Regions from separate parts of the Homo sapiens genome. Here region 1 is linked to region 2. Evidence: promoter capture Hi-C in 16 types of primary human blood cells and fetal thymus (Javierre and others, 2016). All regions are on one chromosome and are shown on one strand. The core of a region is centred on a gene start or on the middle of the fragment in contact, and the rest is flanking DNA. Distances in the headings are between cores, read along the strand shown. Region 1 overlaps SPTAN1 (spectrin alpha, non-erythrocytic 1). Region 2 holds the start of SH3GLB2 (SH3 domain containing GRB2 like, endophilin B2).

Region 1 (4,850 bases), core at 466-2,965, 450 kb after region 2:
TTCTGCTGCCCCAAAGAGCTTCCCCTGCCTCTGCAGAGCCAGGCCCTTCAGCCGCTGCCAGGCTGCATTGACTTCATCCTGCTTAGTCTTGATCAGTTCCTCCTCAGGGTGCTGCTCCTAAACAAGGAAGAGAAGAGACTGGATTTGTACACAACTTCTGGCTCCTCCAACTAGTTACCCTGGGGTTGGTTCCTTGAAGCATCTCAGCAAATCACCACTCTGAAGAGAATCACAAGAAATAATGGTCAACATGATACAAAGTGAACTACAACTCCAAAGAGTTTCTATTTCTTATGTAAAAAGGGGAGAGCCATTCTCTATCTTTTGGAGTAGTGTGGTTAGTCTATAAGGTGGTTATGTGCAAAAGTGCCAAAAACCTTTATGTTAATAAATAGTTTGGCAACAACTGTGTGGTAACTTTATCAATGTACTCATCTACCCTAACTGCTTGAAAATTTGGTATTTCAGATGTTCATGAGGCTGTTAAGCATTCTTGCACATAAACATAATTTTCGGGGCTCAAGAGTTTGTCCCTGGCTTTAGACTGACGACATTTCTTTTTTTCTTTTTTGAGACAGGGTCTTGCTATGTTACCCAGGCTGGTCTCAAGTGATCCTGTCTTGTCAGCCTGAGTCTGAGTAGAGTAGCTGGGTCTATAGGCAGGTGCCACTGCATCAAGCTTAGAGACATTTCTTTAAAAGTATCCTTCCCTACCAACCACATTTTGGTGTTTTAAAAAATATGATACAAAGTAATAAAATGAAGCATTTCAGGGTTCTTGAATCCATCTGGGATACCATGGGTTTGGCCTGACTACTTTTCTCAAGCTCAACCGCAGGAAAGCTTAGGGTTTGGAAAAGCAACACATCTGTCACTGTGGAAGGGTGAGATATTTCTGAGGAATGCCGGGTATCTTTCTCTTAATCACTGGCCAGAAAATGGAAACAAGTACCAGCCTATAAGCAGATTTATACACTTAAAATTTGTACCCCCCAAATCAAATTTCCCTAAAAGTAAAAACTCTCTGGTTCCGAGTACTTGATGTCTTTGGAACCCTTTGGACTCGTAGTGGAAGCAGCTTACAGGATTGTACACGTGGGCACTGGGGAAGGGTTGTCATTCCCTCTTAATGGGCTCCAGCGCCAGAGTGGAGAGCCTATTCACGACAAGGTTCTCCCAGGCTCCCAAGAGAGCCCAGGGAAGCTTCAAATAAAAAAGGAAGGCAAGAGCCCTAATGCATTGGTGGACATCTGCCAATACTAACTTAGCATTCACCACCACACCCTCGTCTGAGAAACCCTGAGACCTAGCTTCAGCAGTCCAATAAAAGCTTCACCCAGCCCTACCCAAAAGTGGGTAGAGGAAACAGATCAAATGAACTCTGCCCTTCCTGCCCAAGGCAACACATTGAAAAGCATTTTCCAATTTAGGAGTAATCAGTATTGTGCCTCACATCTAAACAAAACTCTCAGACATGCTTACAAAAACTTGCTCACTCAGAAATTAGGGGACCAATCATCAAAATTTTATCCTGAATATACTAAAAAGTTAACATAATAATGTTGTGAGAAGCATACAGCACTTTGCTATTTACCTGTATGAGTTTGGCAGCAAACTGGTTCACTTCATTAACTCTTTCTTCATGAGCAGCCATATCTGTTTGAAACTCTTCAAATTTCTTCTGTAAAACCTCTACATGCTCCAGATCCTGGCCCAGCTCTTCAGAAGTAACAATTGCTTCCTATTCAGGGACCATAAGAGAGCCAGAGTCACCAACCAACATTTGTTAACAATGGCTTCCAGAAACATCAAACAGACACATTAGGGACGGAGCCATGTTAGCTTTAATGGATACAGTTTTGTCTGTGGTTTGTGATTTTAGTTCCTCCCACAGAAAGTTAAGAGGTTGAGTTCACGGCATTTCTGTCTCAGCGACTCCAGGCTTCAGAGTTACAGAATAGCACATACACCTAGAGAGCAGCTGGAGAGACAGCAACCCCACTTCCACCCTTTTACTTAAAATGGCCGTATCTGTGCTAACACTGGGTCTCACTACAGATCACAGAGGAGTCTCTTCCCTTTTCTTTGAGTAAAGCTTAGCAAACCCTTCTTCCCAAAACGTGCCTTGTCATTGATCCAGTCCATCACGTCCTCACATTCTCGTAAGTACTGCACCAACTTCTGGGCCTGCAGCAGTTTGATTCCTTTTTCTCGCATCTTCTCCAAAAGTAATTCCCACTGGCGGTGCAGCTCCATCAAACGGGTCTGAAAGTTTCAAATCAGAGTTTTAATCAGATCACAACTGGCTCTGTGGGATCTGGCTCTTCCATAGAGTTTAGACAAGTTAGAGACCTTATGGAGCGCTGAATAAAAATATTTTTAAAAGATAATCCCTAAACTGAGAGGAAATAGTAAATTTAACTGGCAGTAGGGAAAAGTCCACAGTTCACAGTGGTTTTTTGGTGGTCTTCAAGTTACAAGTAGGTAGATCTACTCTAGTTCTTTCACAGGTAGATTTACTCTAGTTTACATCAGGAAAATCATTATCATTTATATTATTAATAATATCTTTATATTTCATTTATAATTATATTTATGATATATTTATATTGTATAGTTATATATTTTAGTATTATATAATAATAGGTACACAATTGATACTATTAATTATTATTAAATTATTAGAGTGGAATTCCTAATCCAGAAGACTACTGGGAAAGGAAAAATGAGGAATTAATGTGTAAACTGAGCTGAAATTACTGAAGGATGTATTCCAAATTCATGGAGATAAAGGGAAAAAAACAAAAGAAGAGGTCTTATAGGCATCATCAATGTAAAAACTATGAGGCACAACAGGAAAATCTTGGTGGAAAAGTAGTAAAGGGGAGGCTGGGTGCAGCGGCTCATGCCTGTAATTCCAGCACTTTGGGAGGCCGAGGCGGGCAGAGCACGAGGTCAGGAGTTCAAGACCAGTCTGGCCAGCATGGTGAAACCCCATCTCTACTAAAAGTACAAAAATGAGCCGGGTATGGGGGCGCACACCTGTAATCCCAGCTACTCAGAAGGCTGAGGCAGGAGAATCACTTGACCCCAGGGAGTTGGAGCTTGCAGTGAGCCATGATTGTGCCACTGTGCTTCAGTCTGGGCGACAGAGCGAGACTCCGTCTCAAAAAAAAAGTAGAAAAGGGCTGGGCGCAGTGGCTCACTCCTGTAATCCCAGCACTTTGGAAGGCTGAGGTGGGCAGATCAGGAGGTCGGGAGTTCGAGACCAGCCTGGCCAACATGGTGAAACCCGTCTCTACTAAAAATACATAAATTAGCCGGGCATGGTGGCACACACCTGTAATCCCAGCTACTCGGGAGGCTGAGGCAGGAGAATTGCTTGAACCTGGGAGGTGGAGGTTGCAGTGAGCCAAGATTGTGCCATTGAACTCCAGCTTTGGGCAACAGAACAAGAATCCATCTCGGGAAAAATAAAAAAGTAGAAAAGATGGGGTCCTGAAAAGTCATCAGCTATCAAAAAGGATCCCTGATAGAAAAAACTTTGGACCTTCTGTGAAAAGACAGTTTGTGGTACATCTCAAGTGAGGTTTATTCCAAACTTCACCCAAGTGGCAGCCACAGGGTCAAACGTATTCACTTCCCAGCATCTTTGGGTTCTCATAACACAGGCCCAGTAAGGACTTATCAAGAATTGGAGGAAATTAGTAATCAATTCAAGCTTAGATGATGCATTCTGGTATTCCAATCCAACCTCAATGCCTTGATTATGCCTACCCAAGATACTGGGAGTTTCTGTACAACACTGACAGACATAAGTAAAACAAACAAAGCGGTTTAAACACTAACAGAAAAGAAGTCTGGGATCCACCCATGATTGAGATGTCACTCCTAGCAAAATGAAAACCTGAAAACCATGTGACAGTCAACATGGGTGGATTCTCTTAGAAACAAGTGTGGATGTTTTACTTGAAAGGAGAAAGCAGCAGAGGAATACATGCTCACACAATTCACTTCCACCACTGTTGGCAAAACTGTGACCCCACCACTGAGAAAGAAGTGAAAGGCACTCCAAAGCAAGGGGGAAAAGGCAACCAAGTCAATACTCCACCTACTCGGATGTGGGACCCGATGTGGGTGGCGGTGACTATGGGGCGCCACGCTGTCCGGTATGGTGTGAAAGTCTAAACCAGTGACAGACAGGTTATCCAGGACACAGACATGCCCTCACATGCCACCCACCTTCCTCTGCTACCACTTTCTGCCAAACTAAGGTACTGAGTTAGGGGACCAAATAAATGACCAAGCCAAGATCACCATAGTAACTGTGAGCATGAAAGTAAAAGATTAAATGAGAGCTCCTGCTCAAATTAAAAATGAGGCCACAGAAGACTAGAGAAAATCCTCTCACATTCAAGTCAATTGTCCATCTCACATATTTCATTTTTACACCCTCAAGAAAGAACTAGGGCAAGGCCTGTCCCAGTACTGGAACCATTGTCCCATTGCTGATGTGTCTGATCTTGTAAATACTGCAGGTTAGAGAGAGTCTGGCTTCACAGGCTTACTATTATTTGAGAGCGTGAGTGGGCAGGGAGGCAGGTGCACTTCATAAACATGTGGAAAGCTGACGGGGTGGACAAGCAAGCCTGGTTCTGACTCAGGTGGATTTCTCAGTAGGGACATAAGCAAGCAACAGGAGCCTTCAGAGAAGCAGATGGTGGAAACATTAAGCAAAGAAGACAGGAATGAAGTACAGGTTGGAAAAATAAAGCACACAGGCTGGGTGCAGTGGCTCACGCCTGTAATCCCAGCACTTTGGGAGGCCGAGGCAGGCGGATTGCTTGAGC
Region 2 (4,925 bases), core at 1,779-4,278:
CCCTTGTAGCTGGGACTACAGATGCACACCACCTCGCCTGGCTAATTTTTGGATTTTCAGTAGAGAAGGAGTTTCACCATCTTGGCCAGGCTGGTCTTGAACTCCTGACCTCGTGATCCACCCGCTTTGGCCTCCCAAAGTGCTGGGATTACACGTGTGGGCCACCATGCCTGGCCGGAGTTTCGTTCCTGTTGCCCAGGCTGGAGTGCAATGGCGTGACCTCGTCTCACTGCAACCTCTGCCTCCTCGGTCCAAGCTATTCTCCTGCCTCATCCTCCCTAGTAGCTGGAACTACAGGCCTACACCACCACGCCCAGCTAATTTTTGGTATTTTTAGTAGAGATGGGGTTTCACCATGTTGTCCAGGCTGGTCTCGAACTCCTGACCTCAGGTGATCCGCCTGCCTCGGCCTCCCAGAGTGCTGGGATTACAGGCGTTTGCCACCGCACCTGGCCTACATCTTGATTTCTTTTTTTTTTTTTTTTTTTTTTTTTTGAGATGGAGTTTCTCTCTTGTTGCCCAGGCTGGAGTGCAATGGCGCTATCTCAGCTGACCGCAACCTCTGCCTCCCGGGTTCAAGCGATTCTCCTGCCTCAGCCTCCCAAGTAGCTGGGATTATAGGCATGCGCCAGCACGCCTGGCTAATTTTGTATTTTTAGTAGAGACAGAGTTTCTCTATCTTGGTCAGCTGGTCTTGAACTCCTGATCTCAGGTGATTCGCCCGCCTTGGCCTCCTGGGATTACATGTATGAGCCACCATGCCTGACTAGATTTTTTTAAAGTTAACACTGGCTAAATGAATGATATAGTCAGCTATAAACAGATGATAGTAAATAAGTCCATGATCAATACAGACAAATAGAAACAAACACATAGTGAACACAAAAACAGAAACACAGAGAATCAGAGTTGAGGGATTGCAGATGTGTGAATGACATGAAAGTTGATGAAGGCAACATGTACATACTGGCCCAAGTACATGACAGGATGGCCCAGGTAGGTGGAGTTTTGAAAGCTCCCAGGTGATTTAATGTTAGAGCCATTGACTTGTTGACCCAGAACCAGGGCTGGGAGAGGGAACAGGGTCTGGATTTTGAACAAGCCCCCAGGTGACTTGAGGCTCACCCTGCAGAGCCATGCTGGGATAGGTGACAGAAACTGGGGTAAGTATAGAAAGATGAACAAAGCCAGATAGAAGAGGGTACAGCTTGGGAACAGAGCTCTCCACTGGGTTCAAAGGTGAAACCTAGGCCGGGCGTGGTGGCTCACACCTGTAATCCCAGCACTTTGGGAGGCGGAGGCAGGTGGATCACGAGGTCAGGAGTTCAAGACCAGCCTGACCAACATGGTGAAACCCCGTCTCTACTAAAAATACAAAAATCAGCCGGGCGTGGTGGCACATGCCTGTAATCCCAGCTACTGTGGAGGGTGAGGCAGGAGAATCGCTTAGACCCCGGGAGGCGGTGGCTGCAGTGAGCTGAGATGGTGCCACTGCATTCCAGCCTGGGTGAAAGAGCGAGACTCCATCTCAAAAAGAAAAAAAAAAAAAAAGAGGAAACCTAGAGGTAGACAGCAAGGAGAGGTGAAGACCAGTACAAAGCCTCTATCTGAGCCCCAAGGGAAGGCATTTGGGGTCAGGAGCACCTGTAGGTCATCTCCTTGCCTGGGGCTGTGAGGAGCTGGTTTCAAGGTTATCACACATCTGTGCTCCCAGGGCAGCTCATTCTCTCCACCCTGACAGTCACCCAACCTTTGATCTCCTCCTCTCACCACACAGGGGGCTCCAGGCCCCAGCTCCAGAACCCCCTCCCTTCCCGTGACCGCCACCCCAACCCTCCTCCAATTTGGGGAAGCCACAGGGCCTCCCAGGCTGACAAACAGCTGTTCCAGCGGTGGAGGGCAAGTCCCAAGCCTGACTCCGGCTCAGTCACCAAGGTCAGGGCAGAAGAGAGGAGGAGAGGTCAGAGAGGAGGAGTAACGGGAGGAAACCCAAGGGAAACAGAGTGGAAGAAATGGGAATGGGAGGGAGGGGGTGTGAATAAAGAGCGGAGATGAAGAGGCACAAACAGGGGAGAGGCAGCAGGCCTGGGTGGTGGGAGGAGAAAGCAAGAGAGGCCCATTTTAGAGATCTGTTGCACATATTGGTGACTACTCAGTCACTTAGTGACTTTGGGAGACTGAGGCAGGCAGATTGCCTGAGATCAGGAGTTCAAGACCACCCTGGGCAACATGGCAAAACCTTGTCTCTCCTAAAGTACAAAAAATTAGCGGGGCATGTTGGTGGGCGCCTGTAGTCCCAGCTACTCGGGAGGCTGAATGAAGCAGGAGAATCGCTTGAGCCCGGCAGGTGGAGGCTGCAGTGAGCCGAGATCGCGCCACTGCACTCCAGCCTGGGCGACAGAGCAAGACTCTGTCTACAAAAAAAAAAAAAAAGTATTGCATATTTCAAAATTGCTAAAAGAGTACATTTGAAATGTTCTAACCACAAAAAAAGTAGGTGAGGTGATGGATATGTCAATTAACTTGATTTCATCATTCCACAATTTCATCACCTTGTAGGCCGTAAATATATATTTATCAATTAAAACTTTTGAAAAGCATTGGTAAGATGGCAAATAATATGTAATTATGGCGTGTACCTGCAATCATCTAAGAGCACATGTGTTCCAGTTTTAATAATTTTAGTAAAAGGAAAAAAAGAGGCCGGCCCAATCCGCGGCGGCAGGCGCATGGGGGCAGCAGCGAGCACTGCCCAGCAGCGAGCCCTGCCCAGCACAACCTGCTCCCCAGACCAACCCCCGCTCTGGCCGCGCCAAGGCCTCGCCCCCACCCATGTAGCTCCGCCCCACTGCCCTCTCGCTCCGCCCCTGTCCCGCCAGTCCCGCCCCCTCCGACTCCGCCCGGCTTCCGCCAACCAGCCCGGCCCCCGCCCCTCTAGCTCCGCCCCACTGCCGTCCCGTCCCGCCCCGGCACCGCCAGCTCCGCCCCCGCCCCTCTGGCTCCGACCCGCGGCCTCCGCGCCCCGCCCTGCGCGCTCGGGCTGGCTCGGCGGCTGCGGCGGGCGGGCAGGCGGGCAGGCCGGCAGGCGGGTGCGCGGAGGGCTGGTGCCCCGCAGCAGGTGGGCGGGGTGCGGTTGGCGGCGGCGGCTGGGCCGGGGGCTGCCGGCTGCGCTCGGGCCGTGCGCGGCGGCCGTGCGGGCACGCCATGGACTTCAACATGAAGAAGCTGGCGTCGGACGCGGGCATCTTCTTCACCCGGGCGGTGCAGGTGAGGCCTGGCGTCGCGCCGTGCGCCGGGGGCCCGGATGTGCGGCGGGCGGGGAGCACCCTGCGGCAGACGCCTGGGGACGCGGGAAAGCCCTCCCGGGCTGCTGCCCTCGTCCCCGCCGCGGCACACCTCTGCCCCCCTGAGCCCTTGCTGACCGGAAGAGGGAAAGAGCCCGTGCGGCCCGAGCCGGGCCTTGGCCCTGCTGCCTGGGGCGAGGCACCGGTGCCCACCCTTTGGGCTGGTTGGGTTACCCTGCTCCCCTGGCGCCTGCCTGGCTGAGGAGGGGAGGAGGCACCGGCTGGGTGCTACCTCCCTGCCCTTGTCCAGCAGTGACTGGCGCCTGGCGGGGCATTTAGCGACCTGGGTCCCAGGCCCAGGGACTCATGCGTCCACCACAACCCCTTCTCCGAGCCTCAGTCTCCGCACCTGTGCAATGGGCGGCTGGTGCCATGAGTCCCTCATGGCCATTTCACACGTTTGGATAGTCAGGCCGGAAGCCAGGAGTTGTTTCTTTTCTGCTCCACGGGAGGTCTGTTTCCTTGGTCCCTGGGCCTGGGGGATGGAGAGAGGGCTGGGGTCTGGCTGGGAAGCTGTCCAGGCCCACGATGCTGAGATTGGAAGAAGTCCTATCCGTTTAGGGGCAGAGAGTAACAGGCAACTCAACATCATGGGAAGACCTAGGGTCAGGTGTGGGTGGGAATGTGCCCTCCTGTGACCTTGGGGGAGGGGCCTTCATCTCACTGGGCCTCAGTTTCTCAGTCTGAAAAATGGGATCAGTATTCCTGCCTCCCAGGACAGATGCGAGGATTCTGTGGGACTCTGCATATGTGTGCTCACCAAAGGCAAGCTCATTATTGGTGTCAAAGTGGTTAATATTGCACCTGTGCAGCATGTGACCTTGGACAAGTCACTTCTCTCAGAGCCCCGCCCTCCCCTTCTGTAAATCTGGTGTAACACCGTGGTTATGGGATTCAGTGGGATTCCGCAGGCCCGGGGCTGGCCCATCCCAGGGTTCTGGGAGCAGGTCCTGTAGTCTTGTCTTTGTCGTTGTCGTTGTCATCGTTGTTGTTTCTGTTGAGTACAGTTCTCTCCCCACCCCCAACCCGGGCACTCCCCTCCCCAGGAGCCCACACCCAGCCAGCAACCCATGTAGTCATGTTTACTAGAAGGTGCTGTGTCCCGCTGAGGATTAGCATCCCAGCGAGAATTCACTGCTTAATGTGTTCCAAGTCTGGTGGGCAGCCCCAGCCCTAGTGGAGATGCCAGGATCCCAGAGCCCCTCGGATTGGACGGCCCCAGTCCATCTGGGAGGGGGGAACCCACTCTGCTGTTGGTATGGCAACCACACTATCTCCCACATCTGGGAAGAACCTGATCTGCCAGTTCCCTGCTAGGGCTGGGGCCCTGCTGCCTGACCTGGCCAGGGCTCTCAGGACCTAGGCAGGGCAGGGCCTAGGTGTGGCTCCGCTTGGTGGGAGCTGCCCCACAGGGTCACTGTTACTGGAGTGGGAGCCAGCAGTCAGGCCCCAGCCTCGGGGTGGGAGGGAGGGAGCTGAGAGCTTTATAAATAGAGGCTTTCTCTGCTCTGCACGCCCACCCCACTGCTGCCATTTTCCCGGGAGCAGCCTCGGACTCCAGCACCAAACCCCTTCCTCTTG

The links. Contacts are between HindIII fragments. The CHiCAGO score rates a contact against its expected background, and 5 or more counts as called.
Region 1: a fragment that was not itself captured here is called in contact with the fragment with the promoter of SH3GLB2 in region 2 in 1 of 17 cell types (M0 macrophages); the score reaches 5.4 in M0 macrophages.

What each region holds. Positions count from the first base shown.
Region 1 is chr9:128,572,090-128,576,939 of GRCh38, reverse strand. It overlaps SPTAN1 (spectrin alpha, non-erythrocytic 1), which reads right to left. Exons shown (of 57, transcript NM_001130438.3): 4 at 2,125-2,265; 5 at 1,595-1,741; 6 at 1-117. Among named protein-coding and RNA genes, the nearest start is that of SPTAN1, 22 kb to the right of the region's middle. The HindIII fragment of the contact is 765 bases long and covers 1,333-2,097 here.
Region 2 is chr9:129,026,434-129,031,358 of GRCh38, reverse strand. SH3GLB2 (SH3 domain containing GRB2 like, endophilin B2) reads left to right here and starts at 3,028. Exons shown (of 11, transcript NM_020145.4): 1 at 3,028-3,267. The coding sequence starts at 3,205. RefSeq lists enhancers at 1,312-2,051, 2,052-2,791, 3,476-4,039, 4,040-4,603, 4,604-4,925 and silencers at 2,666-3,095, 3,136-3,645, 4,528-4,759. The HindIII fragment of the contact is 23,138 bases long and covers 1-4,925 here.